Linked DNA regions of Homo sapiens: regions 2, 3, 4 and 5 are each linked to region 1. Evidence: promoter capture Hi-C in 16 types of primary human blood cells and fetal thymus (Javierre and others, 2016). All regions are on one chromosome and are shown on one strand. The core of a region is centred on a gene start or on the middle of the fragment in contact, and the rest is flanking DNA. Distances in the headings are between cores, read along the strand shown. Region 1 holds the start of RTL6 (retrotransposon Gag like 6). Region 2 overlaps SAMM50 (SAMM50 sorting and assembly machinery component). Region 3 has its middle 17 kb from the start of PARVB. Region 4 overlaps PARVB (parvin beta). Region 5 holds the start of PARVG (parvin gamma).

What was found. The method cuts DNA at HindIII sites, captures the fragments that hold promoters and counts their contacts. A CHiCAGO score of 5 or more calls a contact.
Region 2: a fragment that was not itself captured here is called in contact with the fragment with the promoter of RTL6 in region 1 in 1 of 17 cell types (total CD8 T cells); the score reaches 5.2 in total CD8 T cells.
Region 3: a contact is called between a fragment that was not itself captured here and the fragment with the promoter of RTL6 in region 1, in 2 of 17 cell types (total CD4 T cells and naive CD8 T cells). The highest score is 5.9, in total CD4 T cells.
Region 4: a fragment that was not itself captured here is called in contact with the fragment with the promoter of RTL6 in region 1 in 1 of 17 cell types (naive CD8 T cells); the score reaches 5.8 in naive CD8 T cells.
Region 5: the fragment with the promoter of PARVG here is called in contact with the fragment with the promoter of RTL6 in region 1 in 2 of 17 cell types (monocytes and total CD8 T cells); the score reaches 5.8 in monocytes.

Annotation. Positions count from the first base shown.
Region 1 is chr22:44,496,894-44,499,652 of GRCh38, reverse strand. RTL6 (retrotransposon Gag like 6) reads left to right here and starts at 1,420. Exons shown (of 2, transcript NM_032287.3): 1 at 1,420-1,609; 2 at 1,842-2,759. The coding sequence starts at 2,097. RefSeq lists silencers at 1,210-1,269, 1,360-1,489 and an enhancer at 2,749-2,759. The HindIII fragment of the contact is 14,128 bases long and covers 1-2,759 here.
Region 2 is chr22:43,988,795-43,991,553 of GRCh38, reverse strand. It overlaps SAMM50 (SAMM50 sorting and assembly machinery component), which reads right to left. Exons shown (of 15, transcript NM_015380.5): 13 at 2,297-2,443; 14 at 1,148-1,289. Among named protein-coding and RNA genes, the nearest start is that of PARVB, 34 kb to the left of the region's middle. The HindIII fragment of the contact is 574 bases long and covers 1,056-1,629 here.
Region 3 is chr22:44,005,516-44,008,274 of GRCh38, reverse strand. It overlaps a transcript of PARVB not described here. Among named protein-coding and RNA genes, the nearest start is that of PARVB, 17 kb to the left of the region's middle. The HindIII fragment of the contact is 198 bases long and covers 1,220-1,417 here.
Region 4 is chr22:44,080,909-44,083,667 of GRCh38, reverse strand. All of the region lies in intron 1 of PARVB (parvin beta), which reads right to left. Among named protein-coding and RNA genes, the nearest start is that of PARVB, 58 kb to the right of the region's middle. The HindIII fragment of the contact is 1,958 bases long and covers 386-2,343 here.
Region 5 is chr22:44,179,416-44,182,174 of GRCh38, reverse strand. PARVG (parvin gamma) reads right to left here and starts at 1,250. Exons shown (of 14, transcript NM_022141.7): 1 at 990-1,250; 2 at 258-433. RefSeq lists enhancers at 1-532, 533-1,263 and silencers at 640-769, 1,940-1,989. The HindIII fragment of the contact is 15,489 bases long and covers 1-2,759 here.

The DNA of each region.
Region 1 (2,759 bases), core at 171-2,670:
GGGTTTCACCATGTTAGCCAGGATGGTCTCGATCTCCTGACCTCGTGATCCACCCGCCTTGGCCTCCCAAAGTGCTGGGAGTACAGACGTGAGCCATTGTGCCCGGCCGGAAACTTCCCTTTTTAAAACCATCAGATCTCTTGAGACTCACTCACTATCACAAGAAGAGTGCAGAAAAGACCTGCCCACATAATTCGATCACCTTCCACCAGGTTCCTCCCACGATGTGGGAATTGTGGGAGTTACGACTCAAGATGAGATTTGGGTGGAGACACAGCCAAACCATATCAGCCAGGTATCTTCACTCCTTGGTATTTACTCTGGGGAACCCAGCAGAGAAAAGGGTGGGGATTTATATACAAGTGTAGTTTATAAAACTTTAGCATGGTAAACAAGATAAGGATCTATCAAAAAGGGCATGGCTAAATACTTTGCGGTACAGGAGTTCCATGGACCACAGGCAATAACTGAAAATCATGCTTCTGAACTATCTTTAATAGGAAAATGCTCAAAATTCAATGTGCTGTTATGGTTACAAAATATTCATAAGGTAAAAAATATTTTGTAGAACATATCATAGAAAAATGACTGGATGGAAGTACAGAAATATTACTATCTCTACGTTACATATATATGTATTACTATTTGCTATCTTTAGGTGGAGGGAGTCTGAGTAGTATAAAGTTTTTTTTACTTCTCTTACATCAAGATTTGTTACATTAAATTTATATTCAAATCACAATAAGGGCCTGATGCAGTGGCTCACGCCTGTAATCCCAGAACTTTGGGAGGCCAAGGCAGGCGGATGCCCTGAGGTCAGGAGTTGGAGACTGGCCAGGCCAACAAGGTGAAACCCCGTCTCTACTAAAAATACAAAAATTAGCCGGGCATGGTAGCACGCGCCTGTAATCCCAGTTACTTGGGTGGCTGAGGCAGAAGAATCGCTTGAACCCGGGAGGCGGAGGTTGCAGTGACTCAGGATCGCGCCACTGCACTCCAGCCTAGGCGACAGAGCGAGACTCCGTCTCAAAAAAAAAAAAAAATAAGAAGAACAGTAAATCATCAAAAAAATAAACCCAATGACAACCACAGAAAGAGCCTTGCAAGCCCTCTTGGGAGGAATGACTGGGAGAACACCAGGTACCCGCCCTGATGAAGACGCCGCAGCAACTACAGTCTTCCCCGATTGGCAGCAGCCCGAGTTGGGGGGTGGGGGGGGGTGGGACTTTGTGCATCACTTCCGGGGGCGGGGCAGCGGTCGTCTCCGCACGCGCGGGAGCGGTCGGTATCCATGGCAACCAGCGGGGCCAGCCTAAGGCCCGCCCGCCACCGCCACCGCGCCGGCCCCGCCCGCACAAAGGCCGCGCGGTGACCCGCCCTCTGCCGCGACCCCGGCCCCGCCCCTGCCCCGGCCCCGGCCTGGCCCGGTCCCTGCACCTGCCGGAGGCCGCCCGCCGCCATCGCCAGCGCCGTCGCTTGGCTGCGCTGACCGGGAAGCAGTTCTCGGCGGTCCGCGCGGTGATTCATCGGCCTGGCCGCGTCCCCCGCGCGGGCCATCTTGGTCACGGCCGGCGGCGGACAGAGCCGCGGAGGAACCGCGAGACCCCAGGTACGCGTGCCCCCGGCCCCCTGCCCGGCCGGGCCCCGCCACTGTGGTGGCCCCCAGGCCCGCGGCCGCCAAGGAGCAGCCCCCTTTGTTCTCCCCCGGGCGGGCGCGGGGCGGGCGCCGCGGGGCTTTGTGCAGCCTCGCCACCCACGCGCGGGCCCTCCACGCCGCCCCTCACCCTCCTGCCCGCTAGTCGCAACTGAAACCTTGAAAACATCTTTTCTTAATCCTCCAGGGCCCAGAGCAGGTCCAGCCACCCGTCTGGCTCCGTAGTCCGCGAAGTCTGCAGTAAAGGAGCCGCGTGGGACCGGGGCCGAAGTCCCTAGGGCCTGGCACCGCGTGCCCCTCTCTCGGGCCCTCGGCTTGGGGGTCTCGCAGCGCCCTGCCGTCGTGCACCCCACACTGCCCCCATTTCTACAGGGGCCCACCTGGTCACCACACCCTCTTGGTCCACCCGCGGATCTCAGCGTGTGGCTGACCTCTGGCCAGCATGGTGCAGCCGCAGACGTCCAAAGCTGAAAGCCCAGCCTTGGCAGCGTCTCCGAATGCCCAGATGGATGACGTTATTGACACCCTGACCTCCCTGCGCCTCACCAACTCGGCGCTGAGGCGGGAGGCTTCCACCCTGCGGGCGGAGAAGGCCAATCTCACCAACATGCTGGAGAGCGTGATGGCAGAGCTGACCTTGTTACGCACCAGGGCGCGGATCCCGGGGGCTCTGCAGATCACCCCGCCCATCTCCTCAATTACTTCAAACGGGACTCGACCCATGACCACACCTCCAACCTCTCTGCCCGAGCCCTTTTCCGGGGACCCAGGCCGGTTGGCGGGGTTCCTGATGCAGATGGACAGATTCATGATCTTCCAGGCCTCCCGCTTCCCGGGTGAGGCCGAGCGTGTGGCCTTCCTTGTGTCTCGACTGACTGGGGAGGCGGAGAAGTGGGCTATCCCCCACATGCAACCTGACAGCCCCTTGCGCAACAACTATCAGGGGTTCCTGGCAGAGTTGCGGAGAACCTACAAGTCTCCGCTCCGGCATGCGCGGCGCGCCCAAATCAGGAAGACTTCTGCCTCTAATAGGGCTGTGCGAGAGAGGCAGATGCTCTGCCGCCAGCTGGCCTCTGCGGGCACGGGGCCTTGCCCAGTGCATCCA
Region 2 (2,759 bases), core at 93-2,592, 510 kb after region 1:
GCTCATACCTGTAATCCCAGTACTTTGGGAGGCCAATGCGGGCAGATGGCTTGAGCCCAGGAATTCAAGACCAGCCTGGGTGGGCAATGTGGTAAAACCCTGTCTCTACAAAAAATACAAAAATTAGCCTGGTGTGTAGTCCCAGCTACTTGGGAGGCTGAGGCAGGGGGATCACTTGAGCCCAGGAGGTCAAGGCTGCAGTGAGCCATGGTCAGGCCATTGTACTCCAGCTGGGTGACAGAGAAAGACCGAGTCTCAAAAAAAAAAAAAAAAAAAAATGCCGGGCGTGGTGGCTCATGCCTATAATCCCAGCACTTTGGGAGGCTGAGGCAGGCAGATCACGAGGTCAGGAGTTTGACACCACCCTGACCAACATGGTGAAACCCTGTCTCTACTAAATATACAAAAAATTAGCCGGGTGTGGTGACGCATGCCTGTAATCCCAACTACTCAGGAGGCTGAGGCAGGAGAATCTCTTGAACCTGGGAGGCAGAGGTTGCAGTGAGCCAAGATCGTGCTATTGCACACCAGCCTGGGCGACAGAATGAGAGTCTGTCTCAAAAAAAAAAAAAATTTTACACAATGCATGTAAGAAATAGAATTTGTTTATATAACTGTGTAACTAGCCCTATACCATATTCACCCATGTAACATTTAGGGAATCTTTCCTCAATAAAATAAGGGGTGAAGAAAAGCCAAGAAGGTGGGTTCCTCTGCTGTAGAGAGAGGGGTTCTCAAGATCGTGTCCTCTGTGGTCAGGAACAAAGCTTCACTCACCCCAACTTTCCTAGAGACCCTGGCCTGCAAAGTCAACTGCTCAAAACACTGCCTTCTGTTTTCAGCACACAGGAACCAAATCACCTGTCAATTCCTCCAGCCAGACCCTGGCAGGGGCTCCCACTACCCTGGGAACAATAAGCACAAAGCACCTGAGGGAGGGGGTGGGAACGCTTCACACCTGCTCCTCCCAGCTAGATGGAGAAAAACGCAAAGGAGGAAAATACATGTGTTTTCATTATTTTGCAACTATTTAATTCTCTTAAAATCTTCAAGCTTAAAAGCCACTAATGAAATTAACCACGTCCAAAACAAAATAAAATTACTGGAGAGTGGGATGTGATTGTGGAAAATAATTCCCAACACGTACCTGTCGCCTGTCTGTACTCCCATGGGGACGCAGTAATTAAGTTCCAACCGAGCGATGTTGCCAAGCCTGAGGACAATCCCGGCCCCGTACGACCAGCGGATGCACTCAGCCAGCTTACGAATATGAGCTTTGGGGCCCTCCCCTGAAAAGAGAAAGACCTGTGAGCAACAGTGCGTGCCCGTCCTTCCAAGCTCTCCCAGCTCTCCCAGACAAGCCCTGGCTCCCCCTGGCTGGGCCCTGCAGTTGTTTTTAAAGCCAGGCCTAGAGATTAGGGAGGATGCATGAAGTGAGATTAGGACCCAGGTCAAGAGAGGACTTGGAGCCACACTTACTCACATCCAGAATGAGCCACGCCTTCTCAATTCTTTGGGCCTGGCATATTCTGTTCCCTCTGCTTAGAATGACTTTTCCCCATCCCCTGACCACCTGGGAAGCCCCACTCTGAGTCTCAGCTTGGAGACTTCCATGCCTTCTAGGAAGCTTTCCAGGCACCCCTAGCACCCAGGCATCTGCTGGGAGTCTCTTCTGGACCTGAACTCCCTGAGGAAGGCACCCAATCCTACTCAGCTCTGTGGCCATCATGACTTGTTTATTAAATAGACAAACAGATTTTTCTTCGTAAGGGCATTAGATGATTATTTTTCTTGTATGCTTCATTCGCTCAACCAACCACTTAATGCTGGGCATTATGTTAGCTGTTGTAAGAATTTTTTTCAAGTAAGGCACAGTCTCTAACTTTAATGACTATGTAATCTAAAAAGACAGACATGGCCTGGCACGGTGGCTCACACCTGTAATCCCAGCACTTTGGGAATCCAAGGGGGGTGTGGATCACGAGGTCAAGAGATCGAGACCATCCTGGCCAACATGGTGAAATCTCGTCTCTACTAAAAATACAAAAAATTAGCCGGGCGTGATGGCACGCGCCTGTAGTCCCAGCTACTCGGGAGGCTGAGGCAAGAGAGTCACTTGAACCCAGAAGGTGGAGGTTGCAGTGAGCCGAGATTGCGCCACTGCACTCCAGCCTGGCAATAGAGCGAGACTCCATCTCAAAAAAAAAAAAAAAAGACAGACACCTCTTTGTGTACTGTGCTTTTAAACATGAAAACAACTGTACTACAATGGTTTCTTGAATAGCGCAAGTTTTACCATAGTTGAGGTTGCAGAGGTTTCCTGCGTTGAGAAAGAAGTGTGTTCGGAAAAGTTCTCCAAAGCCACCCTGGCCTGGCCGGAAAGGTAATGGGGTGTAGAGGTGCAGGCCGCCGGCCCAGTACGCTTCTCCACCTAGGTAGTCTCCTAAGCAAAGGAGGGGTGCAGAACAAAAACAAGGTCCGACAAGGTTAACATCACGTTAACTTTCCACAACTTACAGAAGCAAGATTTCTGTCCTGTAAACAACGCCACACAGTGCTGGAGTTTGCAAGCAGCTGTTCTTCTCATTCCTGATACTGATGGCCTCATTTTAAATAATCTTTCTTTTTCTCCTGGTTTGTTTCACACCTTGATTTAACTGAGGAGGCAAACAAAGCCAATGTCGTTGAGGAAGGAATGCACTCTGTCATTCATCGTATCTGTGAAATGCTTTGAAGAAATGAGTCTCATGACAATAACT
Region 3 (2,759 bases), core at 69-2,568, 490 kb after region 1:
TTGGGCGTGGTGATGCGCGCCTGTAATCCCAGCTACTCGGAGGCGGGCGGGGGTGCTAAGGCAGGAGAATTGCTTGAACCTGGGAGGCGGAGGTTGCAGTGAGCCGAGATCATGCAACTGTGCTCCAGCCTGGGTGACAGAGCAAGACTCTGTCTCAAAAACAAAACAACAACAACAACAAAAAAAACCTGTCTCTAAAGGTAGAAACAACCCAAACGTCCACTGACACATGAAGGGATAAAGAAAATGTGGTGTATGCATGCGTATATACATGAAATTCTGACTCAGCCTACAACGCAGATGAACTTTGAGGACATGATGCTAGTGTGATATGCCAGTCACAAAAGGACACATACTGTATGATCCTGCTTAGATGAGGCACCTAGAGGAGTCAAATTAATAGCGACAGGAAGTAGAACAGTGGCTGCAGGGGCTGGGAAGGACCGAATTGGGAGTGAGTGCCTAATGGGTGCAGGTTCAGCTTCGGAATGAAAGAGTTCTGGAGATGGGTGGTGGTGATGGTTGCTCAACAGTGTAAATGGATTTAAGCCACGGAACTGTAGACCTCAAATGGTACATTTTATGTGCATTTTACCAAAAAAAAACTTTTTTAAAGCCTGTTGTCAAACCCACATAAATCAGGGCCTAAAACTAAAGGTAATTCAAAGTCTTGCCTTGGGGGATTGGAAAAGCCTCTAAAACTTTCTCGTGGAGAAGAGGAATCTACAGGAAGGAAGGAGATGGAGACTTCCCGCTGAGGAGCGCAGGAGGGAAGAAATGAGTCCAGAGGCTCCCAGAGGCAGAAGAGGGTGAACAGAGAGCCCGACCTTGGGAAAGAGAATAAAGGATGCTCTGGCCATGACCCACGACTGGAAATTCACATGAATCTCTGGCCTCCAGCGTGGGAGTGCAGAGCCTGATGCAGGCCCCATGCTAAACTGCAAAGCAGCACGGGAAAGGATGGGCTTCTCGGAGGAGACTCCACTCCCCCCAGCCCACCTTCCTCCCATAGGCGGAGCTGGGCACCCCCTCCCCATCTTTCCTGGGTACCCCCTGCTGACCTGTTCTTCCCCACTAGACCTGAAGTGTCATCTCCGCCCGCTGTACCCGCAAACGCAGCCTCGCACACACTAAGAGCTTGATCGCTGTCCCCCAAACGGTTGAATGAACGGAAGGTAGTGGCCACTGACAGTAGGTGGATGGTAACCATTGTGAAGCTTCCTATGGGTCCCTGGGATCTTTGTGCCTTTTGCATCCGCGCAGCAGAACTCACATGGATGGGAGCAGCTGATCTGGGGCTCCCCTCCTGCACTTGCCCAGGTGAAAGATTCAGCGATGAAGGTGATTTGCCCTCACACGGGGCATGACAGGGGGAGGTACTGCACACAAATAGAAGGAAATGTTAGGTAACAAAGCTTTGCTGTTACTAGCTTTCTGGCTGCCTGTCCAGGAGATCCTGCCACGTGGCAGGTGGGAGCTGAGTTACCTATGAGAGGAGAGGGCTGAAGGTATGGAAGTGTGCTGAGTTCAAACCTAGAGGGTGCTCCTCAATCCTGACTGCACACACAGGCCACCTGGGAATCTTGCAAAACCACAGGGTGGGCTGGGCAGGGCCTGGAACTCTGCATTTCTTTTTCTTTTTTTCTTTTCCGAGATGTAGTCTCGCTCTGTCACCAGGCTGTAGTGCAGTGGCACGATCTCGGCTCACTGCAACCTCTGCCTTCTGGGCTCAAGTGATTCCCCTGCCTCAGCCTCCCAAGTAGCTGGGACTACAGGCGCATGCCACCACGCCCGACTGATTTTCTGTATTTTAGTTAGAGACAGCGTTTCACTATTTTGGTTAGGATGGTCTCAATCTCCTGACCCCGTGATCTGCCCACCTTGGCCTCCCAAAGTGCTGGGATTACAGGCATGAGACACGGCATCTGGCCAGGACTCTGCATTTCTAATGTATCGTCAGATTCCTGCACTACACTTGGAGTGGCGTAAGATGCTAGGATATACACTATTGAAAGCATTCCATGGGCCTGGTGTGGTGCCTTGTGCCTGTAATCCCAGAGGGTTGGGAGGCTGAGGCTGAGGCAGGAGCATCACTTGAGCCCAGAAGTTCAAGACCATCCTGGGAAACATAGCAAGACCCTGCCTCTATAAAAAATACTTTTAAAATAGCTGGGCATGGTGGCATGCGCCTGTGGTCCCAGCTATTCCAGAGACTGAGGTGGGAGGATCCCTTGAGCCAGGGAGTTGAGACTGCAGTGAGCTATGATAGCGCTGTTACCAGTGGAGGGTCTTGATTATGAGTCTTGGCGTTTTGAACAAAGAATTGGGCAAAACGCACAAACAAAGAAACAATAGAATGAAGCAACGGAAGCACAGATATATTGAAACAGAAGTACACTCCTCAAAGTGGGAGCAGGCTCTAGCAGTGGCTGAGAGCCCTGGTTACAGAATTGTCTGGGGTTTAAATACCCTCTAGGTTGTTACTTGATTACAACCGATGTAAATGAAGAAGTGGCCTGCGACCAGTCTGATTGGTTGTGGGAGGGGACCAATCAGAGGAACTTCCCATTTTTCATCTGCCATGCAGTGGAAAGGTGGGAGGGTTGAGTAGCCTCTGATCCTTTCGTTACTTGGGTGTGGAGAGGTGGGGTTTTCCTTTTGATTCAGCTCTAGGAAATCAGTGCAAATCAGCCTTAGGTACCCTGCCTCCAGAACCCATTCTCCTGCCTCAGCACCACTGCACTCCAGCCTAGGTGACA
Region 4 (2,759 bases), core at 115-2,614, 420 kb after region 1:
GCCACTTCTGTAGGTCATATCTCTGCCCCTCTGCTCGACTGTCCCCACAACCTGCAATGCCCTTCACTTCAGGTCAGCTAGCTCCACCCATTTCCCACCGTCTGGAAAGCACACTCTGCACATCCTCTATCCCTGGGTGCAGTTCGGGCCCCTCCTCTGGGTTTCCACAGCTCCCCGTGCACATGACAATGACAAACCCTATTCCCCGATCATGTGATTGTGGACTGTGCTCATCTCCCTGCACCCCCCGACCCCGCAAGGAGTGCACAGGGGCCAGGTCCCATTCATGACCATGGCCTCACATCCTGCATAAAACCCAGCACATGGATAACTGCTCTCTGAATATCTGTGGAATGAATGAATGAATGAACACAAATGCTAAGCTTATGTAGGCCAAATGGAGCTACATAGATAATTTCTACAAGAGAAAGTCAGGGAACTGAACTGACGGCTCTCACACAGCATCCCACCTCCAGCCACTTAATTGGGTGGAAAAAGAGGGTTTCCATTAAGGTTTACATTAGCCTGGCAGTCGTGTTTCACAAGGAACCCAATTACCCTGATGTGGCCACGTAGAGGCTGATGGGCTCAGGAGGAAGGAGTCCGCTCCGCAATTAGGGACTTGCTAGTACAAGCAGCCCAGGAGCCAACATCCCCCCAGCCTCACCTCCTGGGGTGTGCATTCCGACCAGCCACCTGCTGCAGGAATCTGAAATACAGACCACCCCGAGATGGAAGGAGTCCATCTGGCTCAGGGAAACTGGGTCTTCTGAATACGAAAAGTTGCTTACATAGAAATGTAAAAAAAGCTCCGAAGCCCATGTTAAACAGATGATTCCCTTGGCCCAGAAACACGGTCTTTTCTTCCCCTTTGTCCCTGGGGTGATCAGGAAAATGTTAGAACCACAGAAAAATGAATCCTTTGTGGGAAGGAGAACAGGAAGAAAGACTTCCAGGTGCACGGTAAAATGTCAGGTTGGCCGTCTAACCCACCTGGGCGAGAAACCGGGGCATGGAGGGGCCGGTGAGCTTCTTGTCTACAAAGGAGGACACATTCTTTAGAGACAATGATGATCTGATTGGTTTCTCAGACTGAAAGCCACATGAGTCAGTTTTTGTTTTTTGTTTTTTGTTTTTGTTTTTGTTTTTGAGACGGACTCTTGCTCTGTCGCCCAGGCTGGAGTGCAGTGGCTCGATCTTGGCTCACTGCAACCTCCACCTCCCAGATTCAAGCGATTCTCCTGCCTCAGCCTCCTGAGTAGCTGGGATTACAAGTGTGCACCACCACACCCAGCTAATTTTTGTATTTTTAGTACAGATGAGGTTTCACTATGTTGGCCAGGTGGATCTCGAACTCCTGATTTCAAGTGATCCACCTGCCTCGGCCTCCCAAAGTGCTGGGATTACAGGCACGAACCACCGCACCTGGCCAACTTCTTTAATTCCTCCCTTCAATTGCCACCCTTCCGGAGCACGGGAACCTACCGCCCAGTGCCCCCACCTTGCGGTGCACAGTGGGATACACATCCCCAAAGCCAGCCTCCCCCGCCCCAAAAAAGAGCTACCCCATTTGCCTCCCGTTTTCTCGGCCCCTCACCCTCAGCTCCAGTGCCCAGCAGCCACTGCCTCCTGACCACTCTCATCCTAATTCCTTAGCAAGTCCTTCGACGCAAGCCTCTGCCTCTGTGATTTTCAGAGGCTGCGTCTGTCACATTTCTCCAACCCATCACGCTGGCTTTCAGGGGGTACTTCCAAATGATTTCAGTCACTGGTCATGAAATCTGTCATTAGCTAATAATAAGAAGAAAAGAGCCTCGAGGCAGCAGAAGGTGGGGGCAGGGTGTGAAACCCAAAAGAAACAATTCTCAGAAGAGGATGCCAACCTTTCCCCTGGCGTGTGTCACCGTCACCGCCCCTCCGAGCCCAGCCACTTGCCAGCAAGCTGCACAATGAGCCCCACCGAGGCGGGGGGCAATGGAACCCGCTGCTCACTTCCAGCAACAGACGAGCCCCATGAGACTGCCAGGCTCTTAGAGAAACGCACTTCATAAAGGAAAGCAGAAACGGCCGTGCAGAAGCTAAGTCTGGAGAAGCACGTTCGCTGGTTCCCAAGTTGTGAAACTCGTATTAATTAATGTGACTGGTAACGTCCCAATGTATCCAGGGAAGTCCAAAGCGTTGTCTGCTGAGAAAATAAGAAGATTAAATCATTAAGTCGTTAGAAAAAGAAAGGCTTTACTATGCACCTGCCATGGAAACGGGGATGTGGGAAAGGCCAGAAGGACAGTGCCCTCTAGCGGCTGTCTCCCCTGCAGAAGTGACACAGATGCCTCCATGAAAGCTTCCCCCAACAGGAGGACCCGGCCTGCTTCGGAGACAGGCCCCTTCCAAAAGCAGGTGGATTTGGGGAGTGCTGGAAGCCATTGGCCTCTGGTGCTGGCAGCTCAGTTCCCACCTGAGATACTCAAAGAACCACCATGGCACTGCCTTGGGCCCCACCGGGCACAGACAACTCTACCCATCAGGAACAGATGCAATGCCCACAGCAGAAAAGGAGAAAGGCCTTCACGGCCCACAGGGGTCCCCACACCCCTGCTGGAGACTGCACCTTTGGAGGAACAGCCCCAAACAAGGGATGGAGGGATGACGGCAGGTGGAGAGTCACTCCATGACCCCACAAAGCAGGTCAGGTTCCCCACTCCCCGCATCCATTCCCCTTCCTCTCCTTTCGAGGCACTATTAGTCTAAGGCACATCTGT
Region 5 (2,759 bases), core at 1-2,500, 320 kb after region 1:
TTCACCTGGAGACGGAGGGGTTGGCTGAAGTTCAGAGGCGGCAACTCCTCAGTAGAACAGGGAGGGAGGACGCCGAGCAGCCTCTGAGCAGGGGCAGCCGGAGGGGCCGTGGGGACTCAAGGTCCCACTTTACCGACTCCCTTCCCCGGGTGGCCTGGGCTGGGACTGCACTCTGGGATCCTTCCCAGGTGGTGTCTGGGCCCCTCCCTCCGTGACCCCCAACACTCAAGTATGGTGGCCCCGATGCCAGAACTCACCCAACCGCTTTCCACGCAGGAAAACAAAGGCCTACTGAGTGCAAAGGGTGGTCCCTGGATTCCGAATGGAAGCAAGTTCCGGGTTCTTCTGGGGTCTTCGGGGACCAGGCCGGGAGGCAGGAGCCCCGCTGCTCACTTCCTCCAGGCCCGCTCAGCCGGCAGGAGCTTCCTCCTCTCTGCGGCAGGGCCCGAGGGGGGTGGATGCCGTGAAAGTGAAGCTGCCACAAACCTCCAGAAAGCTCTGCCCGGAGCCCCAGCGCCCGCCGTGCCGCCTGGGCCCCCGGGGTTCTGCAGGCCACTTAAACTCAATGCTTTCATTTCTCCCCCTCTCCCCGCCTTCCCCAAACCATGCCAGTTTCCCCGCAGGCTGTTCACCTCCAAAATGGCAGCTACATAGGCCAGAGCCTGGGGTCGACCCCCGCAACCCACCACCAGCACCCTGTCAGCCTGGCCTCCACCCTCCATCCCGCACCGCCGTCCTCCCACCTCCACACCCCGCCCCGGGCCAGGCCCCTTCCTCTCCCGGGACCACGCAGGAGACTCCTACCTGGACTCTCGGCTGCAGACTTCCCCACGCCCCCTGCCCGCCCCTGAGCTGAGGCTCCCACAAGCCCTCGGAGGAGTGAGTCACTTCCTGACCCCACTCACTCAAACCCACCAACGGCACCCAATAGCTCTTAAAATAAAATCCAGGCTGTGCGTGGTCTGTCTCTCTCAATCGCGGTTACATACCCGTGTCTAGAACAATGCTTGGCACAAAGTGGGCTCAGTGAATAAATATTGGTGGTGGTTGTTGCCAAGGGGATCGGGAAGGCTTTCCAGAGGAGAATGGGGCCTTGACGGCTGCATAGGAGTTTGCAGTGGAAGAAGAAGGGGTGAGAACGTGGCAGGTGGAGAAAACAGCGTATGCAAAGGCATAGCAGGGTTCGAGAAGGAGAGATCTCAGCACAGTAGATAGAGAAACACTTCAGACCCGAGCTGGTCTCTCAAGCTGGAATCTTCACCATCCGGGCTGAAATGGTGAGTTTCCCTAGCAACAGGTGACTGGGAAGCTATCTACCCTTTCTGACAGGTTAGGCAGAAAGTGGCTAAATCAGGTGGGATGCAGGTGTAAGGAGTGTGTGAGAGCAGGAAAGTAGGGTCGTTTACAAGAAGTTAATAAAAAATGACAAAACTTAGTACTGGTATTGTTGCTAATATTTATGGAGTCATTGGTGATGAAACAAACATAATTTTAAGGGCTTTCATTTTACTGGAAACTTCCTTGTGAGGTAGGTACAATCATCACCCCCATATTACAGAGGAAGACACTGAGGCACATGAGTCAGTCCCTGCCATTCTGAAGTGCCCGTGCTAGACTGGGGCTTGTAACAGGTGGGGAGAGAAGCCACCGTGCAGGACCTATTTTGCTGGGGCGTGTGTAGCAGGCTCAGCCCAGCTCTGGACACAGTGGTTCTGGTGGTGGCTTCTGACTCTGGATCACAGCCACATAGATGTAGCAGCAGTCACAGTCCCAGCAGCAAAGAGACGGTATATTCCCATGTGCTAACTGAAGACTGTTTAATAAAGGGACAGCTGGGGCAGGGTTAAAGGAACCCAGAAGAGACAGTGCTACACCCCAGGCTAGCAACATGGGGAGCTGTTACTTCTTCAAAACCTAGAGGGTGAAGGAGGGAGTGGGTGGCAGAGCCCAGGAACAGAATCACTGAAGCTCTAAGAGGGGCCTCGGGATAGGAGCTGTGGCCTTTGGTAGAGGGACACAGCCAGCTCATGGTGAACCAGCAGAAGGGCACAGCTGGAGGAATCAATGACCAAGCCTCACTCTCCTCCCTCCTGCCAGGGCCTCCCCTGCCCACATCCAGCCAGAAGCCAGAGAAAAGAAGTCCCCTGCTGCGGCCCATAGATGTGAGGAGAGAAAATGGTGGGGAGTGGATCTGCAGAGGTGAACCTAAAGCATTCAACCCAGAAAGCATGCTTCTAGGGCCAGCCTGACTCGGCAGCTTCCTTCAGGAGCCAGCTCTGCAGTATTCTTCCAAGAGTCCTTGCTGGAGGCGCTGCCTCCAGCCTTCCAACAGCTTGAGAATCACACAGCTTCCTATGTTAGATTCCTTTCTCCTCCAAACAACTGAAGAGACTCTAATCATCGGCAACTGAATCCCAATTAACTTCGGATTTGTTACCAGAAACAATTGCAGGCAACACGACCTCCAGGATGGGAACTGGGATTGGTTACTTGTTCTGGTTGATTTAAAGGCAGTGGGGACCTAGTAACTGTTAGAGAATGGAGTTCTAATAGATCGTAGCCTGTGATGGCAAAATAATTACCTGTCATCACTCAGAACGAAGTACCTATTAAATTGTGGCTTTGGCAGAGTTGTGGCTTCCATACGCAATACGAGCACAGGTTATCTAAGGACTGTGGGGTGAGCTTGTTATCATCACACCAAAGAGTTTAAAGCAAGAAAAGGACAGTCCCAGGGCTTTACATTCTCAGCTCAAGGT